2 separate regions of the Homo sapiens genome follow, and region 2 is linked to region 1. The links are contacts of gene promoters, found by promoter capture Hi-C in human tissues and cell types (Jung and others, 2019). All regions are on one chromosome and are shown on one strand. The core of a region is centred on a gene start or on the middle of the fragment in contact, and the rest is flanking DNA. Distances in the headings are between cores, read along the strand shown.

What was found. Contacts are between HindIII fragments. The study calls those that stand out against the background at their distance.
Region 2: a fragment that was not itself captured here is called in contact with the fragment with the promoter of CYP1A1 in region 1 in 3 of the 25 tissues and cell types used here (aorta, mesendoderm cells and thymus).

What each region holds. Positions count from the first base shown.
Region 1 is chr15:74,722,299-74,729,051 of GRCh38, forward strand. It overlaps CYP1A1 (cytochrome P450 family 1 subfamily A member 1), which reads right to left and starts at 3,230. Exons shown (of 7, transcript NM_001319217.2): 1 at 3,143-3,230; 2 at 1-828. The coding sequence starts at 799. RefSeq lists a promoter at 2,938-4,842, a cis regulatory region at 3,693-5,067, enhancers at 3,719-3,742, 3,775-4,974, 4,113-4,135, 4,210-4,224, 4,273-4,296 and silencers at 3,787-4,067, 3,787-3,962, 3,807-3,886, 3,958-4,067, 4,067-4,226. The HindIII fragment of the contact is 9,362 bases long and covers 1-6,612 here.
Region 2 is chr15:74,770,673-74,777,425 of GRCh38, forward strand. No RefSeq gene overlaps it. Among named protein-coding and RNA genes, the nearest start is that of CSK, 8.0 kb to the right of the region's middle. RefSeq lists enhancers at 604-1,319, 1,320-2,033, 2,990-3,567, 4,667-4,776, 4,797-4,866. The HindIII fragment of the contact is 5,252 bases long and covers 554-5,805 here.

The DNA of each region.
Region 1 (6,753 bases), core at 1,980-4,479:
TGACCATCTTCTGCATGAAGCTGTAGAACTTCTCATTCAGGTCCTTGAAGGCATTCAGGGAAGGGTTGGGTAGGTAGCGAAGAATAGGGATGAAGTCAGCTGGGTTTCCAGAGCCAACCACCTCCCCGAAATTATTATTCAGGTTGACTAGGCTAAGCAGTTCTTGGTGGTTGTGGTCATAGCGCCGGCCAAAGCAAATGGCACAGATGACATTGGTCACTGATACCACCACATACCTGTAGGGGTTAAAGTGCCCAGGCCCTGCCATCAGCTCCTGCAACGTGCTTATCAGGACCTCAGCCTCCTTGCTCACATGCTCTTCCAGGTAGCAGGAGGTTGAGGAGGCTGGGTCAGAGGCAATGGAGAAACTTTTCAGGCCATTCTGGGCCAGGCGCCGGCGGGCAGCCCACACTGGTCCAGAGTCTGGGCTGAAGGACATGCTCTGACCATTACTGATGAGGGTGAAGGTGTAGAGGTCGGGCCGGCCCTTGAAATCATCGCCCTGCCGCACCAGGGCCTGCCGGATGGTGTCCAGGCCGCTCAGCACCACCACGGGTGTGGAGCCAATTCGGATCTGCAGCACGTCCCCATACTGCTGGCTCATCCTTGACAGTGCCAGGTGCGGGTTCTTTCCCAGGGTCAGCATGTGCCCAATCAGAGGCCAGCCCCATGGCCCTGGTGGATTCTTCAGGCCTTTGGGGACCTGAGGTCTTGAGGCCCTGATTACCCAGAATACCAGACAGAAGATGACAGAGGCCAGAAGAAACTCCGTGGCCGACATGGAGATTGGGAAAAGCATGATCAGTGTAGGGATCTTGGAGGTGGCTGCTGAGAGAAGGTGCAGGAAGAAAAAAAGTCAAGCCGTCAGATTGGGGGATGAGAAAAGCCAATATCTAGAGTGTCAGGGAAAGGGGAAACCTTTCCACCAGAACTGCTTACTGGGCATGAAGAAGAGGGTGAGGTGGGGAGAAGTTGTTGAACTACCACTGTGGGCTAAGAATTTCACAGTCCTTCTTCATTCAGCCCTGGCCACAAATCTATGAAGTAGCCTGCAATGAGGCTCAGAGAAGGTAAGTAACTTGCCCAAGGTCACACAGCCAGAAAGTGTTGGATGCAGACTCCCAAGCCAAGTTGCCTAATTCCAGAACGCTTTCTCTTAACTGCTGTACCAATCTAAACTGACATCTTCCAATGTCAATCTGTGATTTCCACATAGTACCAGTACTGTTATTTACTTCACATTTTCCTAAAATCAACTTTAAATCTACCTACATATCATCATAAACAATATCTATGTGAAAGTACAAGTTTGATTTTTCCCCTAACACATTAAAATAAACACATAATCAAGGTGTATCACCCCGAGTCCTACCCACCACACTTAGGAAAATCATGTTCTCAGGGGAATTAGGGATCATCTGATCCTTTAGCCTCATTTAACATTTGGGGGAAGCAGCGCTGACTTGTCCAAAGTCCCCCAGCAATCAGTGACAGAGCCAGGACTCAGACTCCTTAGGGACACTTCCCTGGAAATTTCCAGCTGCTGTCACATGTACCTCCTTTTGAAGAGTGGTCAGATCAATGAAGGAATTTTCCCAGAACCCTCAGTTCTCTGCTGCTCAATCCCAGGATGCAGGAAATCCCACCAGACCCCAGGACAGACTGAGGAAGAGATAGGGGACAGGATGGCCACTTCCCAAACCACATTGCTTTCAGCCCCAGCTCTCTGAGTTCAACTGATCCACAGTTTAAAGGCAGCTGGAGACCAGCTAGATTGAGCTCTTTAGTCAGAGAAATCCAGGCCAGGGTTTTTTTTTGGCTCAATTCTCAATGAATGAACAGTTTGGACCTCCCCCTTTTGCAGGTTACCAGAGAGCAGAGAATAAATGGAAGGTTCCCACTAGGCTGTAAGAAAACCCCAGACTGGAATCAGGGAAATCAGGAATGGATCTAAACTGAAAGGAAACTGAGGCAATACTTTCTCTGTAAGCTTGACCTAAAAAGGGTGTTTAAATTCATAAACCACTCTCTCCAACATATCAGGCATCTCTGCCTGTTACCCTGGACTAGAGGTCAGTAGACCCAACATTCTAGTCAAAGTGATCTTGGACTGCACATTTTACTTTTCTGGGGTCCAATTTCAACATCTGAGAGAGGGTAAGACAAGATCTCTCAGTTCAGAGTACCCAGCTGGATCCAGAGGGAAGAGAAAACCCAGATCTGCTGTGGGGAACCTGACAGTCTTACCAGTTAGGCTCCCCACAGGAGAACCTCACAAGACAGGGAGATGGATGGTTCCTACCACAAGTATTATAGTGGAGGGAGGCTTCCTGGAGGGGCTAAATATCAAAGCACACTAGATCCCTGAGTCAACAGGGGACAGTGCCAGGCTTTGGTGTGCTATGGTGTCCCCTTCTGCACAGTGGGTATCCCAAGGACCTGCAGCCTTTGTAAGATGGTAGGAGGCCAAGGGAGATGTGACTGGTGAGTTTTTAGGGACTGGTATTTCCAGCTCCCTGCAGTTGGCAATCTGTCACCCTGATTGTCTCCCAGCAAAGGACAAAGAAGATGGTCAATGAGATAGGAAAGGCCTGGGACTCCTGCACAGATCTGCCTCTATTGTCCCAGCTGTCTAGGACATCTCAGCACTGACAAGCCACCCTTAGGAGGGTAAAATCTGCCAGGGGTAGCTTCTTAGGCTAGGGCAGGGTACAGCTGGTAAGAACCCAGCCCACCCCCTCCATCCACCCTGTCCACCCAAGGAGAAGCCCCTGTCATCAGAAAGCCTGAGGGAGGGGCTGCACATATTCCAGCCTGCCAGGTGGCCTTGATGGGGAAGCCCCAGGGTAGGCAGGGAGACACTCACTAGGGGATGGAGCTGGAGCCTGGGTCCTGAAGTCCTGAATGAGATGCCATCTGTATCTAGAGGTCTGGTACCAGCTGTGGGACCATGGGCAAGTCCTCCTCTTCCCCTGGCCTCAGTTTCCCCACTAGGGGGCTAGACTGCCTGGTCACTAAAAACACTCTGAGCCTCCCTTTTTGGAGGTGCTAGACAGGTAGCTACCTAAGAAGTCCTGGAGGCACCAAAATGTTCCTTTTATTGGGAGAGAAAGGGCAAGCCAGAAGTCCCCCAGCAACTCACCTGAGGTACTGAGCTGAGCTGGGAAGGGTGGACTCTTGGAGCCTGGGATCACAAGGATCAGGGAAGGTTCCAAGGAACTGTCACCTTCAGGGTGAGGGTGAAGGCACTGCCACCTTTATAGGCGGGCTTGTACGTGTGGCCACGCCTCCTTCCCTGGAGCGAGCTGAGATGGAGGGAGAAGCAGCCTGAACCGGGCTGGTCTCTCTGGGATTGGAGAGAAAGGTGGCGGAGGGCGGCGGGGGTGGGGGGTCGGGTGGGCAAGAACCCACTATGGGACACATCTCGGTGCCTGTACATAGAGGGGTGAGGGCTGGGAACACCTGGAAGTCCCAATTCCAAGGCGTCCCAAGGGCAGTGCAGAACCCAGCCGAGGAGGGGGCTTGAGGGAGAAGTCCCAGGACAGCCCGAAGAGAGGGTACGGGAAGCTCCATCCTGGGGCGCGGGGACTCCTCTTCGTCATTTTTGCACCCACTGGAACGCTGGGCGTGCAGATGCCTCCCCAGCGCTACAGCCTACCAGGACTCGGCAGGCGGGGGCGGGGCTGCCCCGTGGTGACCTCCTTCCCGGGGTTACTGAGTCCCGGCTCGCGTGAGAAGCGCTGCGACCCCAGCCCTGAGGTCACGGGGGCCGGAAGGCCAGAGGCGCCGCGGGGCTGGACCTGTCCCCCAGAGCCCGGGCGACTAGCTGAGGTTCGCGCCTCTTGATTGAAGGATCGGAATGGATGGCGAAGGGGCAGGCTCGCTGAGCGCTCACTAGCGGCTCCTCGCAGCCTCTAGGATCGCCTTAGTGCTGATTGCAACGCGCGGTCCCTCCAGCCAGGACCCACCGGCCCTTGAGGGTCCCTCTTGGCTCCCGGGGTGGCTAGTGCTTTGATTGGCAGAGCACAGAAATCCGGCGGCGGGGGGCCACGGAAAGACTCGGGCCCAGGGACCACGGAGGGGGCACCTGGCGCGGAGCCCCCACCCTACCCCCGGCTAGCTTGCGTGCGCCGGCGACATCCCTCTAGGGGGCAGAGGTCAGGCGGCCCGTCCCCGCCCCACCTGGCCCGGAGGCGCGGTGCCCAGGCGTTGCGTGAGAAGGACCGGAGGCCCGCGCAGCCACCCAGCCGACCCATTCCCCGGCCCGGCGCGGGGGCTCGCAGTCACGCGAGGGGGGAGGGAGTCGGGGCGGGGCTCTTAAAGGGCCAGCCTCGCGCGCGGCGTGGGGTTGGGGTGGAGGGAGAGGAACTGTCGAAGGGTGGCGGGTGCGCGATTGAATAAGGGGATGCGGTGCAAAGGGTCTAGGTCTGCGTGTGGCTTCTGCCTGCGAGGAGAGGCAGCCTGCATGTGTCCGCATTTTCGGTCCACGCCTGTGGCACGACACGAAGCCCCAGTGCCATTTGGCATGGCCTAGCTGCCTGCCTCCGACGCTGTCCCGCCCTCCGGAACCTTCCTGTTACAGGGTTTCCAGGAAAAAAAAAGTTGTATTTGCGTGCCTAGCTCAACCTGGCCCCAGCTAACATCGTTACGCGCCATCCCCGACGTGCTCCCCAACCCGGTGGCACCACCATCCGTCGCTGGTCCAGGCCAGAAAATAATCCCCTCACCTCCCATTCCGGTCATATGCGGCCTCGTGCATTGCACAAATATTTACCAAGCAACTACTATGTGCCAGGAGCTGTTCGGAGGCGCTGGCGATTGACAGAGAAGGGAACACAGCTGACAGCACTCCTAATCTCGTGGAGTTTACATTCTGATGGAAGGAGACAAGTAATATGCCCCAAATCTAGAGAATGTGAGAGGGTAAAAAGTGCGGTTGAAAAAAATTAAACAGAAAAGGCGTACGGATTATGTGAGGGCAGATTGCAATTCAAAACAAGGGGGTCAGGGAAGGCCTTGCGGAGAGAGGCAGGAGTGTGGAGTCAAGAATCAATGTGCATAGATATCTGGATAAAAAGTGTACCTGGGCAGGTGCGGTGGCTCACGCCTGTAATCCCAGGACTTTGGAAGGCCGAGTCGGGAGGATCGCCTGAGGTCAGGAGTTCAAGACCAGCCTGGCCAATATGGCAAAACCCCATCTCTATCAAAAATACAAAAATTAGCCGGGCATGGTGTTGCTCACCTGTAATCCCAGATACTGGGGCGGTGAGGGGGGTTTGGGGGGAGTGGAGTCAGGCAGGAGAATTGCTTGAACCTGGGAGGCAGATGTTGCAGTGAGCTGAGATCACGCCACTGCACTCCAGCCTGGGTGACAGAGCGAGACTCCATCTCAAATAAAAGACTGCAACTGGCAGAGGGAATAAGCAAAATCAAAGCCTCCCGCCACCCCCCACCACAGTGGTTCTTGAAGGACCGAGCAGTACCAGGGATGTGCAGAGGTCATGTGACTGGGGAGTTCTCCTGGCATGTAGTCCAGGGGGATGGGATGCCCATGAGGCACAGCGCCCTGCCGCATGTGCAGGGAGCACCCCATTGAGAGACATGAGACTTCCTCTGTGCGAGATAGAGACATGGCTGGGGTGTAAGAGAAGCAAGGTCACTCGGGCTACTGTGCTAAGAATAGGAGGCACATTTCTCTGCTTGGCATCTGCTTTGGCATCTGTCCAGCTCCACTGCCACAACTCATCCAGGGCCCATCATTGCTCCCTGGAGCACTTAGCCTCCACCTAGGTTCCCATTTGCCTTTTGCTCCGTCCAATTACTTCTCCATCCTGTGGCACCCAGAGTGGTCCTGTCAAAAATGCAAAATCTCATTCCATCACCACCTTGCTTAAATTTCTTTGGTAGCTCCCACCACTCTGAAGGCAGGAATAAGAATCTTTAGCAGCTCTCCCTCTCCCTCTCCCTCTCCCTCTCCCTCCCTCTCCCTGTCCCCTCTTTCCACGGTCTCCCTCTGATGCCGAGCCAAAGCTGGACTGTACTGCTGCCATCTCGGCTCACTGCAACCTCCCTGCCTGATTCTCCTGCCTCAGCCTGCCGAGTGCCTGCGATTGCAGGCGCGCGCCGCCACGCCTGACTGGTTTTCGTATTTTTTTGGTGGAGACGGGGTTTCGCTGTGTTGGCCGGGCTGGTCTCCAGCTCCTAACAGGGAGTGATCCGCCAGCCTCGGCCTCCCGAGGTGCCGGGATTGCAGACGGATTCTGGTTCACTCAGTGCTCAATGGTGCCCAGGCTGGAGCGCAGTGGCGTGATCTCGGCTCGCTACAACCTCCACCTCCCACCCGCCTGCCTTGGCCTCCCAAAGTGCCGAGATTGCAGCCTCTGCCCGGCCGCCACCCCGTCTGGGAAGTGAGGAGCGTCTCTGCCTGGCCGCCCATCGTCTGGGACGTGAGGAGCCCCTCTGCCTGGCTGCCCAGTCTGGAAAGTGAGGAGCGTCTCTGCCCCACCGCCATCCCATCTAGGAAGTGAGGAGCGTCTCTGCCCGGCAGCCCATCGTCTGAGATGTGGGGAGCGCCTTTGCCCTGCTGCCCCGTCTGGGATGTGAGGAGCGCCTCTACCCAGCCGCGACCCCGTCTGGGAGGTGAGGAGCGTCTCTGCCCGGCCGCCCCGTCTGAGAATCAAGGAGACCCTCCGCCTGGCAACCGCCCCGTCTGAGAAGTGAGGAGCCCCTCCGCCCGGCAGCCACCCCGTCTGG
Region 2 (6,753 bases), core at 1,930-4,429, 48 kb after region 1:
GATGCTACTGTTTTCCTTGAAGGAAGATGATCAAATGAGAGCAAATGTGCAAACACCCAGCACACAGTAGGTGTTCAACAAAGTGTGCCTTCCTACCTGTCCTCACTTTGCTCTTATTACTCAGGAAAATCTGAGGATGTCAGCAACACTGAGGCCAATCCAGGATCCCCAGGGGCCAGCGTGGTGGTGGCCTTCAAATCAGGGAGCAGCCCACGGTAGGGGGCCCTGTGGGGTCCCAGCAGCCATATGCTGATCTGGCTCACCCACCCCCCAGCACCTCCTCTAGAAAAGTTATTCCACAGCCAAATGGGGCCCCTTCCAGCTCCCTGCCCTCATCCACCCAGGACCTGCCCTGTGATGCTCGCAATCGGGAACAGTCAGCTCTGGCTCCAGCCCTAGGTAAGCCTGGGACATGGTCCTCCCAGGAGCCAAACGGCTCATCTTTCCCAGAGCAGACATGCGCCTGCTCTCCAGGCGTGCCTCTGAGCCTGCCCGACAGGGCAGTGTGACCTTGCCTGCCTCTCTGTCGCTCTCTCATTCCTTCCCCTTGAGCTCTGTGTTGTGGCCACCAGGAGGCGCTGTTCCCCCTCAGACCCGAGTAGACCAACAGCCCAGCGCCACCAGAGACCAGACTGGATTCTAGATTTTCTCTTTTTTTTTGAGATGGAGTCTCGCTCTGTCGCCCAGGCTGGAGTGCAGTGGCATAATCTCCGCTCACTGCAACCTCCACCTCCTGGGTTCAAGCGATTTTCCTGCCTCAGTCTCTGAGTAGCTGGGACTACAGGCGTGCACTATCACGCCTGGCTAATTTTTTGTATTTTTAGTAGAGACAGGGTTTCACCACGTTGGCCAGGCTGGTCTTAAACTCCTGAGCTCAAGTGATCCGCCCACCTCGGCCTCCCAAAGTGCTGGGATTACAGGCGTGAGCCACCAAGCCAGGCCTGAATTCTAGATTCTGAAAGAGGCAGGAGGCGAGTAATCACCCAGAGTGCAAGGGAAGACAATGGCCTTTGTCTAATTGCTGTGAATCTGGCACTTCAAACGCAAGACCTGACCTCATCTTCCCACCCGCCATGATGGGGGTGGGGTCAGGGGGCACCAGTCAGGCTTCTAAGTCACAAACAACAGAGACTGACCTCCAGCTAACATTAGCAGAAAATAAATGCCCCGCTCACAAAGACAGAGAACCAAGCTGGGAATAGGGCAGTCACCCAGGGAAAGTAAGGGCTCCAGTGCGGCTGGAACAGGGCACTGCCAGCAAACATCATCTCCCTGGGCCCCAGTCACACATCCTGGCCCTAGCCGGCCTGACTCATCCCAAGCTTTGGTCCTGTCTCCCCAACATCTATCCTCACTCATTCAGCAAAGCGGGGGGTGGAGGTGGGTGTCAGCACCCGCGCCAGGCCCCACGCAAGGGGCTGGCTCCCAGCAGCCCACCTGGTGGGCCTCCTCAGTGAGCTGCCAAACACACTGCTGGCTGGTCACTTGGTGGAGACAGGCATTGAGAGCTGGCTACACCACCAGCTGCAGAGGACTTGGAGTCGCTGAGGGCTGCAGGCTGCAGGAGGCAACCTGGCTGCGGGGTGAGGGTGGGAATCTTTAGGGGATAAGAACTGGCCCCAGGCTGGGCGCGGTGGCTCACTCCTGTAATCCCAACACTTTGGGAGGCCAACACAGACAGATCATGAGGTCAAGAGATCGAGACGATCCCGGCCAACATGGTGAAACCCCGTCTCTACTAAAAATACAAAAATTAGCTGGGCGTGGTGGCATGCACCTGTAGTCCCAGCTACTCGGGAGGATGAGGTAGGAGGATTGCTTGAGCCCAGGAGGCAGAGGTTGCAGTGAGCTGATATCGCACCACTGTACTCCAGCCTGGGTGACAGAGCAAGACCCTGTCTCAGAAAAAAAAAAAAAGGATCGGCCCTGGGTTCGGTGGCTCACACCGTAATCCCAGCACTTTGGGAGGGCGAGGCAGGTGGATCACTTGAGGTCAGGATTTCTCAAGACCAGCCCGGCCAACATGGTGAAACCCCATCTCTACTGAAAATACAAAAATTAGCCAGGCATAGTGGCACACGCCTGTAGTCCCAGCTACTCAGGAGGCTAAGGCAGGAGAATCACTTGAACCTGGGAGATGGAGCTTGCAGGGAGCCAAGATCGCTCTACTACACTCCAGCCTGGGCGACAAAGTGAGACTCTGTCTCAAAATAAAAGAAAAAAAAGAAAAGAAGGAACTGACCCTGGCTGGAGGGAGAGGTGACTGGGACCTCCCGGGGCTACCTCAATGTCAGGAGAGCACTCCTGGAGACCCAAAGCTTCCAGTTAGGGATTCAAGAAGATAGACTGGGGCGCGGGCAATAGGGATGCAGGCAAGGAGCTTCTCCTTGGAACGGGAGCCCTGAGACCCCCGGGGGAAAATCTGGTCACTCACGTATTCATTCAGCACACATTTATGGCTACAGGCTCTGTGCCTTCCCATGGAGAGACAGAAGAAAGGGAGCCAGTCCCTGTCCTCACGGAGCTCACCTCACCCAAACACACACTCTCTAGAAGGAAATTCTGGGGGTCTTACGGGCCAAAAGGAAGGGGCATTTCCCTCCAGGTCCTCTGGAGTCCCCTGACAAAGGGCCCTCCAGGCCTCATCCCTGACTCACTGGGGCTTCCAAAGTCTCCTCCGGCTCAGGGAGTATCTATCCCTGGCCCCAGCCCCCAGCCCAGTTCCACCCCACCCCCAATCAGGCAAGGAGGTCTTTCAAAAGCTCCTCTGATCTCTGACAGGGACAATGTTGGCACACAGGTTTCTTCACAGGTGTAACACCTGGGCGGGGGCATTTGCATGGGTTTTGCAAAAGCTGGGCCTGAGGCTCACCAGTGCCCAGTTGCTCTCTCTTCCCAGCCCTCGCAGAGCAGACCTCCTGCTCCTTCTCACCTGCCCCACCTTGGGCCAGGTCTCTAACCTTTGCACTGCAGAGAACCCCAGGGCCTCTTTTCCTGCTTTCGCCCAAAGAGTTCCCAGGAGGAAAGCCAGAACAGTGCCAACTGCGGCTTCCAGTCAGCAAGGCAGAGCCTGGGGACTATTGGGTTCAGCACAAAAGTGACCCCTGACAGCATTGAGGGAGATATGTCAGCCTGCTGTGAGCCCAGGACTCCAGGTGGGAACCAGGTAGCTCTGGCTCTGCCCAATTCCAGCTGCTCCAGTGCCTGGAAGGTAGTAAACACGCCCTCAATATTTAGTGAATGGATGAATGAGGGTTTTCAATTCATCAGCCATTGCGAAACTGTAGGCCTAGGAACAGACAAAAGGCCTGGCCCTACCCTTGGAAAGCCCGACTGAACCCAGCAGGGGAGAGCCAGAACTACAAAGCCTGTTTCAGGAGTGAGAGAAAAAATATTCATCTAACTGCCGTGGTGTGAAAGTCTGCCTTGTGTCAAAGAACCCTGCTAAGCAAGCAACTTTACATCATCTCGGTTTAGCATAAGTCCCCTGTGACATGGGTCCTCTCAGTCCCACTTTAGAGATGAGGAAACTGAGGCTCAGAAAGGTTCAGTGACTTTTGCTTAAGGTCACAAGGCTGGGATGGGGTGCAGCCAGGACTCCAACCTGGAAGACTTTGTAATAAATTGAGCAAGAATGATGTGGTGGCATCCCGGGTCCCTTTTCCCCCAGCTGGGATCTGGTGACTGTGTCCTCCTTAAATCCCTCTTTAGTTTTCTTATCTGCAAATAGAAGTAATAATAATATCTACATTGTAAAGAGATTGGGAGGATCAAATGAAACTTAAGACATGTAGAATAGCCAGGCAGGCCCCTGTAGTCCCAGCTACTCTGAGAGGCTGAGGCAGAAGGATTGCTTGAGCCTAGAAGCTCCAAAACCATCCTAGGCACATAGGGAGACCCTTTCTCAAAAAAAAAGTAAACAGCAGGGTGCGGTGGCTCACACCTGTAATCCCAGCACTTTGGGAGGCCAAGGCAGGTGGATCACTTGAGCTCAGGAGCTCCAGACCAGCCTGGCCAAGATGGCGAAACCCTGTCTCTACTAAAAATACAAAAATTAGCTGGGTGTGATGGCACGCATGTGCCTGTGGTCCCAGCTACTTGCTGGGAGGCTGAGGTGGGAGAATCACTTGAACCCAGGGTGGGGGGAGGGGGGTGGCAGTGGAGGTTGCAGGAGATGAGATCGCACCACTGCACTACAGCCTGGGCAACAGAGCAAGACTCTGTCTCAAAAACAAACAAACAAAAAGACACGTAAAATGCTTAGAATGATGCTAGCACATGCAACACCTACATTAGCATTGCCTATTATTATTATTATTAATTGAAATTCATATCACTTATTCATTCAACAAACGTTTGAGTACCAGGATTCAGCCTCCAGCAGCCGATCAGGACACAAATACGAAGTGGGTAGTCAGTGCTATAATACTAAGAAGTGGGCCAGTGAGGGACAATAGCAGAGGGGAGGCTTCCAGCCTTGGGATGTGGGAAGAGGTCATCAAAGCTTCCCGAGGACAGCCAGTCAATTCTCCAACCAGAAGCAGAAGTAATATTTTTAACATGCAAATCTGATCAGCTGAGGCTGTGGTGAACCCTCAAATAGCATGGGGGCGGGGCCCCGATGCCCTAAGGATGAAGTCCAAAGACTCCCCTATTCCACAGGGGATCCTACAGGCTCTGGCCATTTGCGCCTCTGCTTCCAAGGCTCTGACCCCATCCCATCCTGGCCTGTTTTCCTTTTGCCCAAAGCTCAATCCCTTCCAGTTCCAGGGCCTCTGCTCCTGTTGCCCCCTCTGCCAGGCCCCCAGGCACCACCTCTCCTCCTGCAGGGTCTGAGTGCTCAGGTGAGGAGAGGTCTCTGCTCCGCACTCACACTGCACTTGCACAATCCTCTGGGAACTTGCCTCGCCTTGTTGAACACCTCTGCCCCCACAAGACAGAACATTCCAAGAAGATAGGGACCCAGGAGGAGGGAATCGTGTGCGTGGGGGAGGCGCTGGGACAGCCTGCAGGGATCCCAGGCACCTTGGCGAACTCTTGTCATAGACTTGGCTCTGGATCTGCCCTCTCTAGGGAGATATCAAACCAGGAAGCCCAGGACCCAAAACCTTTGCGATCAGGGGTCTGCCAGTTAACCCCTGAGTGCTGGCTGCCTCAGGCCCCGAGGGTGGGGTCCTCCAGTTCCCAGTGGCCTCTCAGTTGGGTCACCACCACACCACTCAAGCCACCAAGCCAACAAATCAAGACTTCTACCATCATCGCGACGGGAAACAAAAACTAACTTCTCAGGAAATCCTCTTGGAGCAAACTGGTGCAGTGGAGAGAGCTGACCTTGGTCTGACATGAAAAGCGGTTGTGCATAGTAAGTGCTCAATAAATATTAGCTGCTATTATCAATGATAATAATAAAGTACCTGGCACATAGTAGGTGTTCAGTAAATGATAGTTCTCTGGTCCCAGGGGGACAGAAATTAGAGGCAGTCAGCAGCCCCTCCCCACCTTACTCCCAAGGTCCTCCACTTGTACACAGGGATTCAGACCTATGGATCACCAAATCCAAACCCTTCAGTTGCTAGGTAGGGAAACAGGCCTAGAGGAGAAGGACTGGCCCAAAGTAAGAAGCAGTGTCGGCCGGACGCGGTGGCTCACACCTGTAATCCCAATACTTTGGGAGGCCAAGGCGGGCGGATCACAAGTTCAGGAGTTCAAGACCAGCCTGGCCAATATGGTAAAACCCCATCTCTACTAAAAATACAAAAATTAGCCGGGTGTGGTGGTGGCGCCTGTAATCCCAGCTACTCGGGAGGCTGAGGCAGGAGAATTGCTTGGACCTGGGAGGCAGAGGTTGCAGTGAGCCGAGATCACACCATGCACTCCAGACTGGGCGACAAAGCGAGACTCCATCTCAAAAAAAAAAAAAAAAGAAGCAGTGTCTGTCCCTAGAACCTGGGTCTCCTGGGCCAATGCCTCATCCTCATAATAAACTTTCCAGCCTTAGGAGGGAGGTTTTCAGTGCCTAGATTCAGGCAGACATGTTTCCTCCAAAGGACAGCTTTGGAAGGATGGGAGCTCAGGCCTTCTCAGGAGGGCGAGAGGGGTTATTGGGAAGGCCAAGGTTTATCTCTGCAGGAGGAAGTCTCAGCTGCTTGACTTGATGGAATCCCCAAGAGCCTGCTCTCCCGCAGGTCAGGCAGGAAGGGGCAGAGGTCACAGGGGAGGCCTGTCCTGGCCCCTGGTTCCCTGAGTCTTTGCTATCTGTGGGCCTCAGCTGGCACTCAGCCAACAGGCCCCTGGCATTAAGATGACAAGGGCTACTGTGGCCTCTTGGCTTCTCCCTGTTTCTCCCTAGAGACACTCAGCCCCAGCACTGGCCGGATCTCCCTGGCCACCTTCCCTGAAGGCCCCTTTCCCCCTACTTTCATGTCTCAACCCATCCCCACAGCTCAGTGAGACCCTGCACCCTGCACCCTGCACCTTGGATTCATGCCAGGCCTGAGTGACCCACGGCCCATGCCTTTTCTGCTTGGTCCCATTGCCTCACGGGTGCCCCCAAGTTCTGCTTCCTGTCTGTGCCACCGTTAAGCCTCTTTCCTAGTGATGACTCCCGCGACAGCCTCTTTCCGGAGGAGGCGCATTCCTTAAGGGCCTGGTGGGGATGGTGATGACAGGGCCAAAGGACAGCTCCCAAAGCTGGAAAGCCAGCCACTGCGGGGGGCCTGGAGGTGCTGTCAGCAAGGGAAGCTGCCCGGCCCC